Regions from separate parts of the Homo sapiens genome. Here region 1 is linked to region 2. The links are contacts of gene promoters, found by promoter capture Hi-C in human tissues and cell types (Jung and others, 2019). All regions are on one chromosome and are shown on one strand. The core of a region is centred on a gene start or on the middle of the fragment in contact, and the rest is flanking DNA. Distances in the headings are between cores, read along the strand shown.

Evidence for each region. The method cuts DNA at HindIII sites, captures the fragments that hold promoters and counts their contacts. A contact is called where the count stands out against the background at its distance.
Region 1: a fragment that was not itself captured here is called in contact with the fragment with the promoter of DIAPH2 in region 2 in 2 of the 25 tissues and cell types used here (hippocampus and stomach).

What each region holds. Positions count from the first base shown.
Region 1 is chrX:96,647,319-96,652,272 of GRCh38, forward strand. No RefSeq gene overlaps it. Among named protein-coding and RNA genes, the nearest start is that of DIAPH2, 35 kb to the right of the region's middle. The HindIII fragment of the contact is 7,113 bases long and covers 1-4,954 here.
Region 2 is chrX:96,683,108-96,687,877 of GRCh38, forward strand. DIAPH2 (diaphanous related formin 2) reads left to right here and starts at 1,735. Exons shown (of 27, transcript NM_006729.5): 1 at 1,735-2,083. The coding sequence starts at 1,952. RefSeq lists enhancers at 1,523-2,238, 2,239-2,952. The HindIII fragment of the contact is 18,479 bases long and covers 1-4,770 here.

The DNA.
Region 1 (4,954 bases), core at 1,856-4,355, 34 kb before region 2:
GTGTACTAAAGATAAGAAAAATAGCCAGGTGTGGTGGCATGTGCCTGTAATCCCAGCTATTTGGGAAGTAGAAGTGGGAGAATCACTTGAACCTGGGAGGCAGAGGCTTCAGTGAGCCGAGATTGTGCCACTGCACTCTGGCCTGGGAAACAGAGCGAGACGCCATCTCAAAAAAACACAAAAACAACAACAACAACAACAACAACAACACTTTAAACCATTACTGATCCAACCAAATAATGACTAAGACACTGGGGAAAAGAAAGTAAAGAATGGGTAGGAGGAATGATCAGGAGACATTTGATAGGATTTACCTTCCAGAACATACAATAGCAACAGTCTCCTTCATGTCTCCACTTATACCCTCCAGGCCTCCTCCTCCTAATTCTTCCACAGGCTTGTTACTCCCCTGTCCAAAACCTTTGCTTTCTCCTCAATCTTACCTTCAGCTCCTCCTCTTGCACACAAAATGACTTTTTAGTTTTTCCCAGTGTTTCCCTACTTATAAACTTTAGCCAAATTATACCATTCCTTCTTTCCTGAACATGCCCCTTGTTTTCCTTGCTCAAAGTTTTTACTAATGCTCTTCCTATTGTTTGAAAATTCCTTCCCCCTCCATCTGTTAAATCTGTACTCATCCCTCTGGGTTCAGCACCAATGCTGTAACACCTCCTTCATCCTTCAACTGAATGTATTCTTTCCTTCTCAGGACTAAAAAGGGCCTCACATTTTAAAGCTGCTTATTGCATTCTGCCTTATCACACTTTTACTTCCCCCACCTAGGGGGATGGAAAGCTTATATTTCCACATGGTACCTAGCAGTGCCTTTCCTATAGCAATGACTTTAAAATTGCGTGGAACGAATGAATTTCCCCTTTCCTCAATTGCCAGGGAAATTCCCTACATGAAACCTACTTGTATTAGTAACAAGAGAAGCTTTCATCCTAGCACATACCTTGGTTTCTTTCTCTGTGCCCATGCCTATCTCTATTCCTATGTAAATCCCTATGTCTAGCTCTCTCTGTGCCTCTGTCTGTTTTCTCCATCATTGACTTTGTCTTCTCACCTCCTTCCCTCCTCTATCTGGCACTGTCAATCTGTCTTTTAGTGTCTTTTTCAGTCTTTTCCTTGTTGCTGTAGGTATGTCTTTAACTTTATCCCTGCTTTCTCTTCTACTGTCTGTCCATTTCTGTTTCTTGTTTCTCTGACACCTACCCCTTCTAACATGGAGGTCAAACTCTGAAGCTCTTTCAAAGCCCTGCTTAAACTGAAACTGATAAGAGAGTGTTCTTGGGTCTTTTCAAGTTGGAACTCAAAGAGAAGCCTTGAAAATCAACATTCCAGGGACAGGTGATGTCCAGTGCCTATGGTAGAGGGTATGAATTGGAATGTTCAGACACTCTGAATGCTTAATTTACATGATAAGGCATAAAGATATAAAAGGTGACCCACAACAGCTAATCAAAATAACAATGCTAATTTCTCTAACTCTGGCTTCAAAGATAAGGACGTGTTAGAGAGCAAACAAAAAATTCTTGAAAATCATTGGCCACTTTGGCACCTTGCCCAGGAGACTCTAAGGATTCATATATAAGTATAAATGAATTGAAACTAAACACAATAATAATGCCAACAATTTTTTCGGTGCTCACTGTGAGACAAATGTCTTACATATATTAACTTATTTAATCCCAATGCAACATTTTGCGGGAGGAAAACTGAGGTTGAGGGTGGCCAATTAATTCCATGGTCAGCCATCTCCAAGAGGGGGAGCTAGGATTTGAATTCAGGTGTAGTCTGATTCCAAACCCTGGGCCCCTAATCACTCCAGCACTTCTCAAACTTGTCAGCTCTTAGGAATCCTTTGAATGCTCATTAAACCTTCAGAATCCTGAGCCCTGTCCTAAACCTACAAAATCCCAGGGGAAAGATCTGGGAGTCCAGTGTTGAGCAAATGACCCAAGTGATTCTATTTGTCAGAACTATTTGAGAACCAGTGCACTAAATAGCTTCCTTAACCACGATGTAAAGGAGGGGAGAGTTAGATTTTCCTGGTAGTTACTAGCATTACTTGACCCAGCTTCTTCCATTCAGTCCTTTGCTAGCCTCTCCTTTCCAGAGAATCAAAATCAGCCTTAGATTCTTTGTTTAATCTATAGTTTCAATGTACAATGGGAACATTTGAATTTTGAACTGAATTTCAACCAAGTCAGCAAAGAGATAGCACTTTATTGGTGGAATGGAAGTGAATAGAAGAGTATGCTGTGTTCATGTGGGGACTGGGGGAACGAAGGGGTTGGTATTTTCCTGATACTCTTAGAAATCATGCTATGTGGATGATTGACTATTTCATCCTTTTAAAGCTCAGCCTTTATTATAAAAAGAATTTTTCTTTTAATGAATAGAATAGATCTGGTACTAATAATGGTAAACACCAAGAAAATATACATGCTGAAAATACAAAATGACAATGACTTACATATAAAGTATTGACTGTCAGACCCTATACTAAGTGTTTTGCATGAATCTTCTCCTTGAATATCACAACATACTTGTGAAGTAGTTACTTTAATGATCTGTATTTTACAAATGATGAGACTGAGGTTCATAGAAATTCCTTGTCCAAGATCTAAGAGTCCGACCCAGGTTTGTTTGACGTATTACGAGAGAAACTTGAAATACATTAAATTTAACAGAATTTAATTGAGCAAATAATGATTCATGAATCAGGCAGTCACTCTCCCCACCCCTTGCCCCCTTCTCTGCAACCGGAATAGGTTCAGAGAGACTCTAGCTCACTGCCACATGGTTGGGGGTAATTTATGCACAAAAGAAGTAAAGTGATGTACAGAAAATGAAAGTGAGATACAGAAACAGCTGTATTGGTAAGAGTGTCTTATTACACTGCACAGAGTTTGAACAGTTGGCCGCCTTTGATTGGCTGAACCTTGGAGATTGGTACAAGAATAGGTTATACATCCAGTTAGGTTACAGTTCACTATGTATGGAGAAAACTTTAGGCTGAACTTAAAAGGAGGAAGCTTTAGGCTAAACTTAACAGACTGCAGTTTGTGCCCTTAACACTTTGCTGCACACCCTCCACTTCAAATAGGTCAAAGAAAGATTTGGGTAAATTCAGTGATTATAGATTCCTAATGAGATATGAAAAGATGTTTTGGGATATTGAGGGTGTTTTGAAAAATATTTTGAGGTTAATTACTTTGAACAGAAGCACAGGGTTCTCCCACAAAGATTTATTTTAGTATCACTTCTAAAGAGATGCTGATATGATCCAGTATGGCATTTCTTGTGTTTTTATCTTCTTTGGTTTATTAGCAACCAATTTCTTTAGTAAGTGAGGGTACCATTTGGATCACCTATTTTGAATTCACAATGAATTCAGAACCCTTTTCTGAATCCTCAGAACCCAAAATCTCCCAAATTTATAGATGTTAAGATATATACATATATGTGTATGTATATATATATGTATATATATGTGTGTGTATGTGTATAAATATATATATATATTCCTTTAATCAAAGATTCGCCCGAAGTAGAGTGATGAAACAAGAGGAATATGAAGACATTCTTTTCCTTTCTTGAATTTTCTCATTTCTGAAATTTTTCTCCCTATTATGCAAAGAGAGATCATAGTGATGTGGAATATGATAAAAATGCCTCTCACCTAGAAGTACAAGGTATTTGTTTTGGTTTTGTTTCTTTGTTTGAGACAGGGTCTCGCTCTGTTGCCCAAGTTGAAGTGGAGTGACACCATCACTGTTCACTACAGCCTTGGCCTCCTGGGCTCAGGGGATCGCCCTGCCTCAGCCTCCTGAGCAGCTAGAAAAACAGACACACTCCACCACGTCAAGCTAATTTTCTTTTTATTTTTTGTAGATACGGGGTTTTGCCACGTTGCCAGGCTGGTCTCAAAATCATGGGCTCAAGGAACCTCCCACTTCTGATTCCCAAAGCAATGGGATTACAGGCATGAGCCACCAGACCCAGCCTATGGTGATATATACATATATTGAGCCCAGGACATACATATATATATATATTATGTTGACAATTCTTTTCAGCTCATAAAGCTCTACCAAAATTATATATTCTTAAATAAAAGCCTAAGAGCTTTCAAATGTCTGAGTACTTATAATTTCCAAATTTAGAATTCTTTTCCTCTACCCAAACTGTACAAATAAAGATAAATCAGAATTTTGAAAAAACTTCAGCTGTCAAAAAACAAGTGATTATCAAAATTGCTAAACTACTGCATTAATCATTAATTGATTTATACAACTTAGTGACTTTACAAGGGAAGGTGAACATTTTTTAACACATGCCTAATGTTGACTAATCAATCCTCCTTCTGCAAAATTGCTTTTAAAAAATCAACATACAAATTTAATCATTATAAATTCAATCAGTAAAGAATGGCTGCCCCTCTTTCCCACATTTTGATTCCCAGGATACAATCACTTTCAAATATTTTGGGTTTTAGTTCTTCTGTTAACTCACATGTTAAGCTAATATCACTTTTTCTGTAACAAAACCCATATACCTATCATCCAACTACACAAATTATGAACATTTTGTCAATCATGCTTCATCTAGACACACCACCCTCCCATTTTTTCCTGAAGCTCCTTTATGTTTCTGTTTTTTTCTCCCTTCTAACCAGTCTCTGGAGCAGAGGCCAAGTATAACTTCTAGCTGTACTGTCCAGCCCCTTTTTCCTTGCTCACTGTCTAGAAACTCTACCCTCCTGTGTTGTTTGCAGAGGAAACAATTTCGATTGCTGGGAACATAGTAGAGAAAGTAGAGTCTATAACATTAAGCTACGTTTTTTCATAAACAGCATAGATTAGTTTTATGTTTTTGGTACGATTGACATACAATGAACTGCACACATTTAAACTGTACATTTTGAAAATTCTAAAATAAATACATA
Region 2 (4,770 bases), core at 485-2,984:
CATGTATTCCCTCTTCTCTGCTGTCCTTTGGTAGCTTGCCACCTTAGGAGTAGAGAAGTCACACCTCCATGATTAAAAAGAAAGTCAGCCGGGCACGGTGGCTCACGCCTGTAATCCCAGCTCTTTGGGAGGCCAAGGCAGGCGGATCACCTAAGCTCAGGAGTTTGAGAGCAGCCTGACCAACACGGAGAAACCCCATCTCTACTAAAAATGCAGAATTAGCTGGGCGTGGTGGTGGGTCCCTGTAATCCCAGCTACTTGGGAGGCTGAGGCAGGAGAATCGCTTGAACCCGGGAGGTGGAGATTGCGGTGAGCTGAGATTGCACCTTTGCACTCCAGCCTGGGCAACAAGAGGGAAACTCTGTCTCAGAATTAAAAAAAAAAGAAAGTTAATGACAATGACAAAGCTAGAATTAAAGCTGTTTTCAGATATCTGGTGTTCTTTTCATTCTACTGCCCAAGTTAGCTGTCTCCTTGCACCTATAGCATGGTCAAATGCATCCTAATGCACTCTCAATAAATATGTTCAGATACAAATTCCATTCAGCATATTAAATTTAGGCCGAAGGGGAGAAGGTCAAAAGGAGTCATAGTCTGGAGATATCTTCAGTAATAGGTGTATGGCATGTTTATAGATTTCATATTTAAATTTACTTTATAGGTAGCTTTCCTAGCATATGTGCTCCTATTCTATGATGGTGGTTCATTCAAATCCTACCCACCCCGTCTAATGTTCTCAGTGTGTACCTTTACTTTTAAAGGGCATCATTTAAAGAGGATGGAAGAAATACAGTGTGGGTACTATATTTTGTCCTGAGGACAAAATGCTAGGTATGACGCAAGGACTTAAGACTATCGTCCCAACAGTGCCCTGCTGCTGCACAAAAACACCTAGCATTTGTCTAGGGATTTTCATTTACAACAAAGCTTTGACACACATGATCTTATTCACTCCCCACAACAACTCTAAACTAGTTCGGGAACCTGAAAATAGCACTCAATTCAATTGCTAGCTGTATGTAAGTGTTTTGGTTATAGAACCTAACAATCCCCTAGGGATTAAGCGGTGGGCGCCTGCTGCTTCAACAACCCTGCAGCAAGGGAATAAAGGAACAACTGTATTTCTTCGGTCACAACGTAATCACGACAACAGAAAGCACTCACTCTTTCCACTCTGACCCACACACAGTCTGTCGAGGCAATTAATCAGCACTCCCGGTGGTTTTCCTATAGGATGCCAGTTCCCTTGCCAATCAAGTCTTTCCACAGACTGTAGCAGGACCACACCCCCGGAGAGGCCTCAGGGAGGGAAGGTGCTGTGGCCCACAGAAGTGAAAGCTGATACTCAGGTTGACCCGCCAGTGAAACTTACAGGCGGATCTTCCCGGGCCTCAGTTTCCCCATCTCTAAAATGGGCTACCCTTCCTTTCTCTTGACTAGTTCCCTCCCTGTTCTCGCTGGGCCACTAGGAAGTGAAATCAGTGCCTAACCGCAGCTGAAAGTGCTCTGTTAGGCTCCAGTCACCGCGCCGGGCATGCTCAGTAGCTGGGGCCGGCTCGGCTGCGGGAGTAGGAAGCAGCTTTGCGCGCCCGGGCGGCCGATGCGGGCACTTTGAAGAATCACGTGTGTTGAGGCCCTCTTAAAGAGATAGGCACCTACTTTTCCCTCCACCCTAAACACCGCCCTGAGGGCGGCGGCGACCGTGGTAATTGCAACTGCTCAGGGGCAGGGCTTGCCCCAGCGCCGAGTAGTGGCAACGGCGTGGTTGCGTCGGGGGTGCCTGGGAGCCTGGAGTCCCGGGGGCCTGAAATCGGCAGCTTCCCGGGCAGACACTCTCTCCCTCAGGAAGAGGTGCCGCCGAGTCAGCGCGGGGCAGTGTGAGCGCCCCGAGGTGCTTTCTCAGTTGAGGAGAGGTGGGGTTACAGGGCACAGGTGACAGGGCCGGAGAAAGATGGAGCAGCCCGGGGCGGCGGCGTCGGGAGCGGGAGGCGGCAGCGAGGAACCCGGTGGGGGCCGGAGCAACAAGCGGAGCGCGGGGAACCGGGCCGCCAATGAAGAGGAAACGAAAAACAAACCCAAATTGGTGAGTGCTCCCGCAGCCCCCGCCGGCCTTAGGGACAGGGAGAGCCCCGGGATCCTCCTGCCATTGAACACGGGGGCACCCGGGGCCCCCTCCCAAGGATGACCGCGACCTCGCTGTGCAACTCGGGGAGCCGCTAAAGGAGTGGCCACGCCGAGGCGCGGAGACGGCGTGGGGGCGGAAGAGCACCCCCTTCTCTACTTAACCCCTTTCTCACTCTTGTCAGCCCGGGAGGCGGTGCGGGAAGGAGAAAGGCCCAGCCCCAACTTGGGGACACCCCGAGTACTGGGTAGGGCTGTTGTTTGTCTAACTTGTGGGCGCAAACCTTTGCGCGATTCCATTCTCCTCCCACTTCTTGTTAGTTGCTGTTTTGCCTCCTAACGCGTAGGGTCCGGGGCAGGGGAACCTCCCTCCTTTTTATTCCAAGTCCTTGGGAGCCCACCTACAGCTTCGCAAATCAAGAAGAACACTATTTATGCTCCCAGTCTTTCTACTTTACCAGAAATCTCAGGAAGAGGCGCCTACGTGCCTTTTTCCTCCTCCTTGCCTCTCTCCATGTGCTCTCCCAAGAAATGTTTCTTTGGAAGGGTGGGGGCGCGTGGGAGTTTGAGGCTGGGTGAGGTACCACCAACTGTCGAGTGTGTGTAATAGGCATAGTCATACAGTACTTCCACTTAGTTGATTAAGAACGCTCAAAAGCAGTAGGCACAAACTGTGCAAATCTCACCGTGCTGATAGTGTGAACCGATGGTAGCAGTCCATTTCCTGCCACTGAATGTGCAGAGGAATGAAATCGATGAGGCCTGGTATTGCATTGGGAAATACTGGAGTTTCCTCAGCTCATCAGAAGGGTTCCGCTTTTTGTAAACTTTCTAATTTGGGTGGTGTGAGGGGAAAGGGTTTTCCTGTACAAATTCAGCAGATACTCCTTAGAGCTGTATTCTTAGTCCAGATCCGAAGCACAAGCCACATGTTGAATGTATAGATTTCAGCTTTAACTACCAACTTGATTATAATAGACAAGGAGAGGGTGACATATAAATAAAGCCGTTTCTTATGGCATCTGGCCATTTGGTTTGGATCCAGTACAAAACTGTGGTTTAATCAGTGATTAAAAATTTAAGTAAAAAGTTAACTGATAGTTTCCACAAATGGTTTGGTACGTCTAGCAAGAATCTGCCACTTTTAAGAAGTATGCTTTCGAGAAAAAAAAAAACACTTATCTCTGTTAGTAGTAACACCTTGATTATATTCTTCTCTTCCCTTTAGCCATTTGTCCTGATTCATCTTTTATGTTTTACTTGCTTTGACAAGGTAACTAGATAGTTATGAGATCGTATCATTTTCAGTTCCTAGCTAACTTCACTGTTCCGGTTCCTAGCTAACTTCACTGTTCCGTGTTGAACATAGCTTGATACGGTAGAACAAGATTTGAATCCAAGAGTTTGTTAATATTAACATGAATTTTCTTTTTTTGCTCAAACATAACTTTTGAGCCTTACGTGATTTTACAAGCAGATGTGTCAGAGTTAACAAAAACAAATTTAGGAAGACATTGTGGCACATTTTAAGGCAAGCAAGTTGACCAAACAGTAAGATTTAGTAAGCTTTTCAGGAAAGAATTCATCTGGGATTCTTAGAAGTTTGCTAGTAAGATACAACTTTACTTAGATGAAATTTTTTTATTTTGAGTATTATGTTAATAATCTCTGAACTAGTCCTTAATTTGTGTGTGTATATGAGTGTAAAGGAGTTGTGGTATGGGATTATAAAAGAGAGCCATATGGTGATAGAAATTATTTGTGTAGGTGATCTTGGGGCATAGGGGTTCTTAAACTCCTGAAATTGTATGAAAATATTTGAGTGTATATGGGTACATTTATTTTTCTGGGCCCCATGGCTTTCATCAGTTTTTCAAAGGCATCCATTACCTATAGAAGAGTAAGAACTATGGCATTACAAAAGATAGAAAGTAAAGGAAAGAATAGTTGATTCCACTCTAAGTTACTGAGTAGGGAAGAAGGGGAAATGGCATTGACCACACAGGTGATTGATATTGAAACGAATTCTTCTAGTGGTAAAAAAGAAGTTAACTACTCAATGTCTACATAGATTAAAATTTCCGCTACAGAGGAAAATTAATTCAGTCGCTCCAGTATAATGGATTCATAAGGTATAAGGCTTGTGTAGTTTGGTTGTTTTCATTTAGTTCCTCAGAATTCTGGAAAAATGGAAATGGAACACATATTTTCTTTTCTTTTTTTTTTTTTGGGACGAAGTCTCGCTCTGTTGCCATGGCTGGAGTCCAGTGGCGCGATCTTGGCTCACTGCAACCTCTGCCTCCCGGGTTCAAGTGATTCTCCTGCCTCAGCCTCCTGAGTAGCTGGGATTACAGGCACGTGCCACCACACCCAGCTAATTTTTGTATTTTTAGTAGAGACGGGATTTCACCATGTTGGTCAGCCTGGAAAGCAGATTTTCTATAGAGAGGAACTGCTTTCATTTATATCCTCAACTTTTTAATGAGTATTAGTGAGAAATTTTTCAGAGTGGCATTTCAACACTATAATGATTTCTATTTAAGATTACTTAAATAAAAATTTAATGGAATTCACTTCAGTTTTTTTCATATAAGCATCCTCATAATGACCCTTTTGTTTTGATTCTTTTAAAATAAGGCATTCCTGTCT